Regions from separate parts of the Homo sapiens genome. Here region 2 is linked to region 1. The links are contacts of gene promoters, found by promoter capture Hi-C in human tissues and cell types (Jung and others, 2019). All regions are on one chromosome and are shown on one strand. The core of a region is centred on a gene start or on the middle of the fragment in contact, and the rest is flanking DNA. Distances in the headings are between cores, read along the strand shown.

Region 1 (4,855 bases), core at 1,052-3,551:
GATATTAAAAATAACATATTTTTATATCCTTTTAAAGACACATTTTATGCTACATTTGGACATGTTTAACATCCTGTAATTTACTAAATATCCTACAATTTTCCTCATTCATTTGACTTTTGTGAGAGGAAAAAAACAGCCTTCTGAAAGAAGTTAACACACATTATATGCTACTAAAATATTTTAATGCCTCATTTGTTCCACATTTATTTATATGTTTATTGGCATGTTTATTTCCCCACTTATGTAAATAGTGTTTCTCTGTAGGAAGTTGGCAATAATCTCAATAGATACATGACTAGAACTCAATGTAGTGGGTGATTAATCCTGGCTACCCATCAGAATCACCTGAGACACTTAAAAAAACAAAACCGATGCCCCAGTCCTACCTCAAACAATTTAAGTCAATATTTCTAGGGCTGGAATTGGGACATCTCTATTTTTAAGAACTTCTCAGATATTCTACAAAATACTTGACCAGCACTTTTCAACACTGTCAAGGTCATCATAAACAAGGAATGTCTAAAAAACTGCCACAGTGTCAGAGGAGGTGAAGGAGACATGATAACCGAATGTTATGTGGTACCCTAAGTGAGATCCTGGAATAGAGAAATAACATTAAGGGAAAACTACTGAAATCCAAATAAACTGTGGAGTTTATTTAATAGTAATGTACCATTGTTGATTCCTTAGTTGTAACAAATGTATCATCTTACACTAAAACAAATGTCAACATCTCACACAATAGAGAAACTGGGTATATGGGAACTGTCTACTATTTTTGTGACTTTTCTGTAAATCGAAAACTATTCTTTAAAAAAGTTTATTTAGAACATCTGACTATATGCTAGAGAGTAAAAGATAAGGATCTATGAACTGAGATCTAGCATCATTTGTGAAACTGACCCTTTTAAAGGGTTTCTCTGTGCTTCACTTTCTCTAGTAGGGTTGAAAATCACTTACATAGTAATCTGCTTACAGTGTACCAGAAAACAAAAAGACGCTGTGAAATATTGAGCCCAATTGTCAATTGTCGGCATGTGCGTTCTTAAAAATTTGACACTCAGAAACCATGGGCTGCTTCATTAGGACCTTTAGGGAGATTACATTTCTACCGGCAGTTCCAGGAGAACACAAATAGACTAATGACAATACACTTAACTGTAACAATGACAATCCTGATAATTACTGACTTCCAAAATACAACAATTCAAGAAAGACTGCTTAGTAGAGAATAAAAGGTAACAATAAATTTCTTAGTTTAGAAGCATAAGTTTCATTTTAATACCTATGAAAAATATAAATATGTGGATTAAATAGAATGTCTAATGTTTTCTCAGACCCCAGTGGTTTGAGAAAAGCCTACCTGGATTTAGCCGGTCACACCTCTCTTTTCATAACCATTGCAATTTTAAGCATATTTGTCATCTGTGCAAATTTCTAGAGAAAAGTCAGAATTGTGTTTGAAGAAATCACTCTGCACAAGTAAACCCTTGCCAAACAGCAAGTGCCAGGAGACGATGTTTCACAAAGCTTTTAAAAATTATTATTATTATTATTATTATTATTATTTTGCACACATTATCTAGTTTGGTAAAACTGTCACCAATTTACAATCCGGAATCACCATGTGAGTCGAATTAACAAATGTATTAGCAACTTGTAGTCAACCAGATTGCAGTTCCAGCTCCCTAACTCAATGCAATTTTAATAATTTCTCTTCTCTGAGTCTATCTCAGTTTCTCATCTGTAAAATGAGTAAAAGCAAACCACTTGCAGTTCAGATGTTGAGATTCGGTGGGAAGGACCTCGAGAAACAGCGGACAATTTCAGGATTTAGGACTTTAGGTCTTGATGGGTGGATGGTACTGTGGAAGCTGTTTACTTGTTTGTATTTCTAGAATCGGAAGGTAAAGCGAAAGGGATGGAAACGAGCGAATGGAAGAAGTAGGACAGACACCAGACAGAGATCAACTCCAGGGACTCTTCCGGACCTGCAGGGCAGGCAGAGCATTCGGTTGCTAGGCAGCTGCGCCTCCTGGGAGGGTGGGGGACCCCAGGGGCAGGTGTCTAACTCACTACCTTTTTGTTTAGCCGCGGTGCCTTCTTTTCAAAATCAATGAAACCTGTAGCCTTTAAAAGTAGACATCTTTTTCCAACCAAGTTTAGGCAAGCCCTGTAGCCGAGTTCTGCTTGCGGTTGTTTTTCTTTTTCCTGTTCTCAGGCGCGCTGCGGGCACCTCTCGGACAAGGCCCCAGCCGTCGCGGGTTGCCGGGCAGAGTCGGACGCCGCCAGCTCTTCACTCCACGCCCACCTCTCTCCTGGAGCGCTGGGCCTTCGCTGGCCGCACCGGCAGCCATGAGCTCGGAGATGGAGCCGCTGCTCCTGGCCTGGAGCTATTTTAGGCGCAGGAAGTTCCAGCTCTGCGCCGATCTATGCACGCAGATGCTGGAGAAGTCCCCTTATGACCAGGTACCGGCCAGCTCCCGTCAGCCTGTGCATCCTGACGCTGAGGCTGCGGGGTCTGGGGCATATCCCAGCCCCGGGTTGGGAGGCCGGGGAGGAAGGCCCGAGGCGGGGCTGACCGTTCGGCCCTCGGAGGCGCCCGGAGCGAGACCTTGTGGAGCTGTGACTAGCGGGTCCGCTGTCCGCCACGTCCACGGGGATAGCAAGTTCTGTGCCATGACCGCCCCCTCCTCACAATTTTCAGCCTCCCCTCCCCTATACGTGTCCCAGAATGAGAGCCCTGAACTTTACTTGACGAGGAACTTTGATAATTCGTTTATACTTGCATATTGATGGGCTTTAAGCTCTCAGCGTGTGCGTTGTTAATTTCTAAAAAATATGCATAAACAAAGATCTGTGACTCTCCACCTCCTGTTAACATAGCTGCCTTCTTCCTTTTGGATCGAACATGTGATCCTCCCACCTCATCTTTAGACTGTTGTCCAAGAGTGAAGGAGGCCATGAGTTTAGCTTGAGGCAAATATGCAAATTAGAAGAATGAGAATCTAGGAGGGAGAAAGATACATTCATTATTTAAAAAATTACCTAGGCAAGGGAAGCTCTAATTGTAGGAGGGAGAAATGGGAAAGAAAGGCTCCTTACAAGAAGGAATGATGGCATTGATGAAAAGAGAACTTAAACTAGAGTAATGTGTATAGCGAGTGGAAAAGGTAGTATACAATGTACGTGAGCGGTACAATTCTGGTGGGCAGGTGGCTCCTGGAATAGGCAAAAAAGGAGAAAATGGGAGAACAGAAGTAGCGCTGCGGCAGTTTGTCAGTGCTTTTAGTAAGTGCGGAATATACCTACGTAGTTCTAGTTCCCTAGCTTTTCCTCTAGTGGTGTTGCCTTGGAGATGTTAGAAAAAATGGAAAATTGAAGGGAGTTACAAAAGCGGAGGCCTGAGTGTGAATGCTGTTACTAGGCTCTGCCTTAGCTCCCAGCAAATGGATGATGGATGATAACCTGCTGAGATGAACATTTTGTCTTTCAGATAGTACATCTCTCTTAGAACAGCCTACGTTAGTGGTAATACAAAGCTAGGTTCTGTTGTTAGTTCACATTAATTAATAGGACTATATTTCTGTAGACAAGCATTTTTCCAAGGTTTTTTTAAATTTTTTTTATTTTTTTTTATTTTTTTTTGAGACGGAGTCTCGCTCTGTCGCCCAGGCTGGAGTGCAGTGGCACGGCGCGATCTCGGCTGTCTGCAACCTCCGCCTCCCAGGTTCAAGCGATTCTCCTGCCTCAGACTACCGAGTAGCTGGGACTACAGTTACGTGCCACCAAGCCTGGCTAATTTTTTTGTATTTTTAGTAGAGACGGGATTTCACCGTGTTAGCCAGGGTGGTCTCGAACTCCTGACCTCGTGATCCGTCTGCCTCGGCCTCCCAAAGTGTTGGGATTACAGGCATGAGCCACCGCGCCCAGCCCCCAAATGTGTTTTTGGCATAGTAATCTTATAGATATTGCTTAAAAAAATACACAATCAAATATGTTTGGGACTTGTGACAAAATATTGACCCTTTACGTTGGTACAACAGAAGCTTGTTAAGAACCTTTGATGTGGCCGGGCACGGTGGCTTATGCCTGTAAACCCAGCGCTTTGGGAGGCCGAGGCGGGCGGATCACGAGGTCAGGAGATTGAGACCATCCTGGCTAACACGGTGAAACCCCCTCTCTACTAAAAATAGAAAAAATTAGCCGGGCGTGTTGGCGGGCGCCTGTAGTCCCAGTTACTCGGGAGGCCGAGGTAGGAGAATGGCGTGAACCCGGAAGGCGGAGCTTGCAGTGAGCGGAGATCGCACCACTGCACTCCACACTCCACAGCCTGGGCGACAGAGAGACTCTGTCTCAAAAAAAGAACCTTTGATGTGCCAGACATTGTTCTAGGCACAATGGTTTGCAGGAACTTTATGTGCCATTTTAATTTTTCCATTGAGTTACGGTAGTTTTCATTCTGTGTTCCACGAAACAGTAGTCCCAAGAGCTGTTCAGTGAGAACAAGTTCCCTCATTAAGTACATTTGGGAAATGTATGTTCCTTCTTGGAGATTCAGGATGCACCCTAAAGGCTCTGAGTAGTTTTGAAGAAAAGGAAACTAATTTTGCCTATTTTTGATTAATCCAAATAATTAAATAGTTCTGAAACTTATTTGACCACCGGATTCCTTTTTTTTTTTGACCCAGGGAAAGGGTCAGATATCTTCACTGTTATCCTGGGAAGATGTTGGTACATCGGGAAATGTAGGCAAAGCAGCAATATTTTTATTAATAGTTAAGACCCTCTAATCTTGAGTTCATAGTGACATTCAGTATTGCACCTATAAATTGAGATATCAGGACTTGAT
Region 2 (4,855 bases), core at 596-3,095, 1.2 Mb after region 1:
TTCCCTGTTCAGTACCAGCAAGACATGCCTTTTAGTGTTTTTGGCTTCATGTTTGCCAAATAGACTTACTTAATACAGAATTTTTTAGACATCCTTCAGACTGGACATCATCCAGAATTTACTTCCTTGAGATCAGCCCTCCTTCATATCTCTTGGGTAGAACTCTGTGTCCGCACCACCCACATGTCTGAGGTATCAGCAGCCAGAGTTGCCACTTTTGTCCTTCACCAGTAGGCCGTGTCACTTGCTGTGTTCTGAGGGGCTCATTTGGAGCCATTGTTGCAGATAGTCAAGCTTAGTGCCCAGAATGGCACAGTGTCACACACTGCAGAGGCCTCACCTAGAAAAGGAATCCTGCAGTTCTCTACTTCCCCACAGCCATGATTAGGACCTGTCACTCTGGAACCAAGTTGCCGTGTGATGTGACACTACTGTGAACTAAAAATACAGCAGGTGGAGAACCAGCATTTCCCATTCATGATAAAGATGCCATTTGAAACCTGGGATTGATCTGGAGGCTGATAAGTCGCTGGTACCATGTGTTCCTATTTTTTTTCTTGTTTTTTTAAGTGAATAAATCTGGAAATACATCCTTTTGAGAGAAACCTAACTTGTAAAGTATGTTGTCAATAGCTTCCCCTTTGACTAAGAACACTTTCAAGAGCTTTGGAGAGTCATGTCAAGGTACATTTGACTTTGTATGCCCAGTACTTAGTGATGTTTGGTGTATAGTAGTAGTAGTCGCCTAATAAAAGTTTGTTAATTTAAATCAAAGACTTTATTCTTTTCAGGTCTAAAATCAATTTATCAATTATGTAATGTTTTCTGGGTTGTCCCTTTAAGTGTATTTAACTTTTAAATTAGACTACGGTTCAGAAAGTCTCAATATAGGAAAGCTGTGATTATTTCAAAGATCAGTAGCTGTATTCCAAACCCAAAGGCCTCTGTGAATATATCAGGGAGGTACAAGTACTTCTCTCTTTGGACCTCATTCCTTTGGTGTTTATTGAGCACATACTCTGTCAGCCACTGAGTAGGCACTAGACTTGAGCCTGCCTAGTGCACTGTGGCTAGAATTCCTCCTGCCTCTGGGAATAATATTGCACATAAGCATCTGAGAAGCCTGGATCAGGGTCCAATACTGCTTACTTCCGGATGAAAGTAGCCCAGGTGTCCCTGTGCTGGTCTCAGCCTCTTCTGAGCCCCAGGGTCACTTGGTCCTGTGCTAGTGGGTTCCAAAAAGTCAAGTCTCTACTTTCTCTTTTCTCTGTTCTGTTTAAATTTTTTCATTGTAAACATGGTGTGTACCAAAAGTACATGCACTCTTATGATGTGGCTCTGGCTGGAAGAACTAATACAGTTTACAAGAGCCACCACCTTAACCCTCTCTTTGTCTTCTTCCTCCTGACACCAATGCTGCCTACCTGCCTTGGGCCCAGCCCATCTGTTATGGGTCCCCAGGGTTTCCCAGGAGGCCACAGCCGGGCAACAATTTGACATGGCGTATCTTGGTACCTGCTGATGTTCTCGCATCCAGCGAATAAAGCCACGGCCCTTGCATTCTACTCCTTCCTCTCACCTGTCCACATCCTATACCATCTGCCCTGGCAAGAATTTATTTTCTTTTTTTTATTATTATACTTTAAGTTCTAGGGTTCATGTGCACAACGTGCAGGTTTGTTACATATGTATACATGTGCCATGTTGGTGTGCTGCACCCATTAACTCATCATTTACATTAGGTATATCTCCTAATGCCATCCCTCCCCCTCCCCCTGCCCCACGACAGGCCCCGGTGTGTGGTGTTCCCCACCCTGTGTCCATGTGTTCTCATTGTTCAATTTCCACCTATGAGTGAGAACATGTGGTGTTTGGTTTTCTGTCCTTGCGATAGTTTGCTGAGAATGATGGTTTCCAGCTTCATCCATGTCCCTACAAAGGACATGAACTCATCCTTTTTTATGGCTGCATAGTATTCCATGGTGTGTATGTGCCACATTTTCTTCATCCAGTCTATCATTGATGGACATTTGGGTTGGTTCCAAGTCTTTGCTATTGTGAATAGTGCTGCAATAAACATACGTGTGCATGTGTCTTTATAGCAGCATGATTTACAATCCTTTGGGTATATACCCAGTAATGGGTTGGCTGGGTCAAATGATATTTCTAGTTCTAGATCCTTGAGGAATCGCCACACTGTCTTCCACAATGGTTGAACTAGTTTACAGTCCCACCAACAGTGTAAAAGTGTTCCTATTTCCCCACATCCTCTCTAGCACCTCTTGTTTCCTGACTTTTTAATGATCGCCATTCTAACTGGTGTGAGATGGTATCTCATTGTGGTTTTGATTTCCATTTCTCTGATGGCCAGTGATGATGAGCATTCCTGGCAAGAATTTCTCTGCCTGTTCCTACTGGTTGTCACCTTCTCTCTCCCCTGGATGAACTGACCCTTCCCTCCCTGTTTTCCCCATCTCAGGCTACTGCTGGGTTTCTACCCACATGTCAGGGTCTGTGTTCCTCTGCCCTTAAACCCTCAGCAGCAATCTTTGGCCCACGAGATGATGTCCGGACTCCTTTGTGTGACATCAAGGTCCACTGTGAGCTGGAACAGCATGTCCCCCAGGCTCCAGCCACCCACAAGTATTTGTTAGCATATTAATGCACGTAGGCTGTAGCAGCAATGGCCCCTTTTTACTAGCAGTGTGATCCTGGGATCTACTGCTCTTTGTCTCAGAGACTCTGAAGTAACTTGGTAAGAGAATATGGGGAAACACATTGGACAGATCCCTTAGGGACCTCAGATCTCTAGGAGCCAAAATGAGAGAAAGAGAATGAACTTTGAAGTGAGACAGAGAGGAGCTAGGATCCTGCTTACAAGCTGTGTTAGATTTGGCCTCCTTATTCTACTTCCGTAGGCCCCTTTTTCTCGTTGTACAATGGAAACAATGTAACTCATAGGATCTCATGTGAGATCAAGAGTTATAACCCATAAAGTGTTTACAACAGTGCCTGGTACTTAGCAAGTCTCAGTAAAGGTTGCAGTTGACATTAGCAGTAGCAGCAACAGCATATAAGCCACACAGTTCAACAGAAGGTTGAAAGCAGGGGCTGATACTCCATGGGTTTTCAGTCAAATCAGAATCTTGATGTCACTTCTGTGATGACGTTGCACTCTTTTCTTTCCTTCTGAACTGCATTCCCCCAGCCCCACACAAACAGCCCTTTGCTTATCAAAAACCCATCCTTCAAAATCCTGTTAGGTTTACACTTCTCCACAAAGCTTTTCCTAAGCCCCTAGCTGGAAGCACTTCCAGTTGTTGATCCTATACTGCCTTGCAGGAAAGATGCCACCACCTTCCTATAATTTACTTCCTTGCCAATTAGTTGGTCTTTGACTAAGTGTGCCCCTTCTGGGAAGTTCAGCTGCTATCACTGTTTTATCCAGGAAAGCCTGATGCCTTGTGTAGGGTTTTACCACTTGAGGTTGCTACTCGGATAGCTGCAAATAAAAACATAAATTACATCTCTAACTGAAACTGAAGCATGCCTCCTGTTCCCTATGATTGAGCTAAGCTGCTAAACATAAATCATCAGAGCGACAATCAGCTCTTTCACTCCCAAAGCTGAAGAAAGGAAAAGCCAGCAATTTCTCATGTGTGATATATGTCCACCCTCTCACCTGGTGTTTTATAAACGTATTGTCTTAACTGTCTTCTAAGTATCTGTGCCTGGGAGGGTGCCTTCCTCTGTTTTGTAAAATGCCAAGTGATACCACTGTGATATATAAATAATGATAATTAGAAGACAGCCTCAAATTATTTGACATTCAGATTGAAGGGGAAAGTAGTACTTTTTTTTGTAATAACCTAGAATTTGGATCAGAAATGGCATTCAAAATAAAAGCATATTGGTTTCTGTCAGACAGGGATAGTTCAAACCTTCTCATATCTGAGGTCGAATATCACAAAATGGAGTCATGGGTCGAGCACACAGCCTCAGATCTGGGCCCAGGCTGTAAAGAACCATAACCTGTGGCCACGATATATTTGAAAATATCAGGACTAATAGGAGCTAAAGAAGAGAGAAGTCATTTTTTACCTGAAACTCCATAAAAGTATAATAATCATTAACTTGGAATCACTTCCCAGCCACTAGCCTCTTTGTTTTTTAAAATGTCCAAATACCAGGGTTTCTAGAATTTGGCTCATCTTGACCCTGCCTGCCTTAAATTTTCAAGGAATTCTTCCTTTGTCATAGTTCCTGGTGGTGAATGTGAGACCATTTGTTTGCTTGGTGGAAGGAATGTAGGACCAAGAATCAGAAAGACGGTTTGATTTCCAGCCCTGCCATTATTTTTTTTTTTTTTTTTTTTTGAGACAGAGTCTCGCTTTGTCACCCAGGCTGGAGTGCAGTGGTGCCATCCTGGCTCACTGCAACCTCCGCCTTCTGGGTTCAAGTGATTCTCCTGCCTCAGCCTCCTAAGTAGCTGGGATTACAGATGCGCACTACCACACCTGGCTAATTTTTTGTATTTTTAGTAGAGATGGGGTTTCTCCGTGTTGGCCAGGCTGGTCTCGAACTCCTGACCTCAGGTCATCCGCCCGCCTCGGCCTCACAAAGTGCTGGCATTACAGGCATGAGCCACCGCACCCGGCCTTTTTTTTTTTTTTTTTGAGACAGAGTTTCATCACTGTCACCTAGGCTGGAGTACAGTGGCTCGATCTCGGCTCAGTGCAACCTCTGCCTCCTGGATTCCAGCGATTCTCCTGTCTCAGCCTCCCAAGTAGCTGGGATTACAGGCATACTCCACCATGCCTGACTAATTTTTGTATTTTTAGTAGAGACAGGGTTT

Evidence for each region. Contacts are between HindIII fragments. The study calls those that stand out against the background at their distance.
Region 2: a contact is called between a fragment that was not itself captured here and the fragment with the promoter of TTC8 in region 1, in 1 of the 25 tissues and cell types used here (dorsolateral prefrontal cortex).

What each region holds. Positions count from the first base shown.
Region 1 is chr14:88,822,350-88,827,204 of GRCh38, forward strand. TTC8 (tetratricopeptide repeat domain 8) reads left to right here and starts at 2,302. Exons shown (of 15, transcript NM_144596.4): 1 at 2,302-2,472. The coding sequence starts at 2,359. RefSeq lists an enhancer at 1,954-2,313. The HindIII fragment of the contact is 5,735 bases long and covers 1-4,486 here.
Region 2 is chr14:90,024,840-90,029,694 of GRCh38, forward strand. All of the region lies in intron 15 of TDP1 (tyrosyl-DNA phosphodiesterase 1), which reads left to right. Among named protein-coding and RNA genes, the nearest start is that of KCNK13, 35 kb to the right of the region's middle. The HindIII fragment of the contact is 5,501 bases long and covers 1-4,596 here.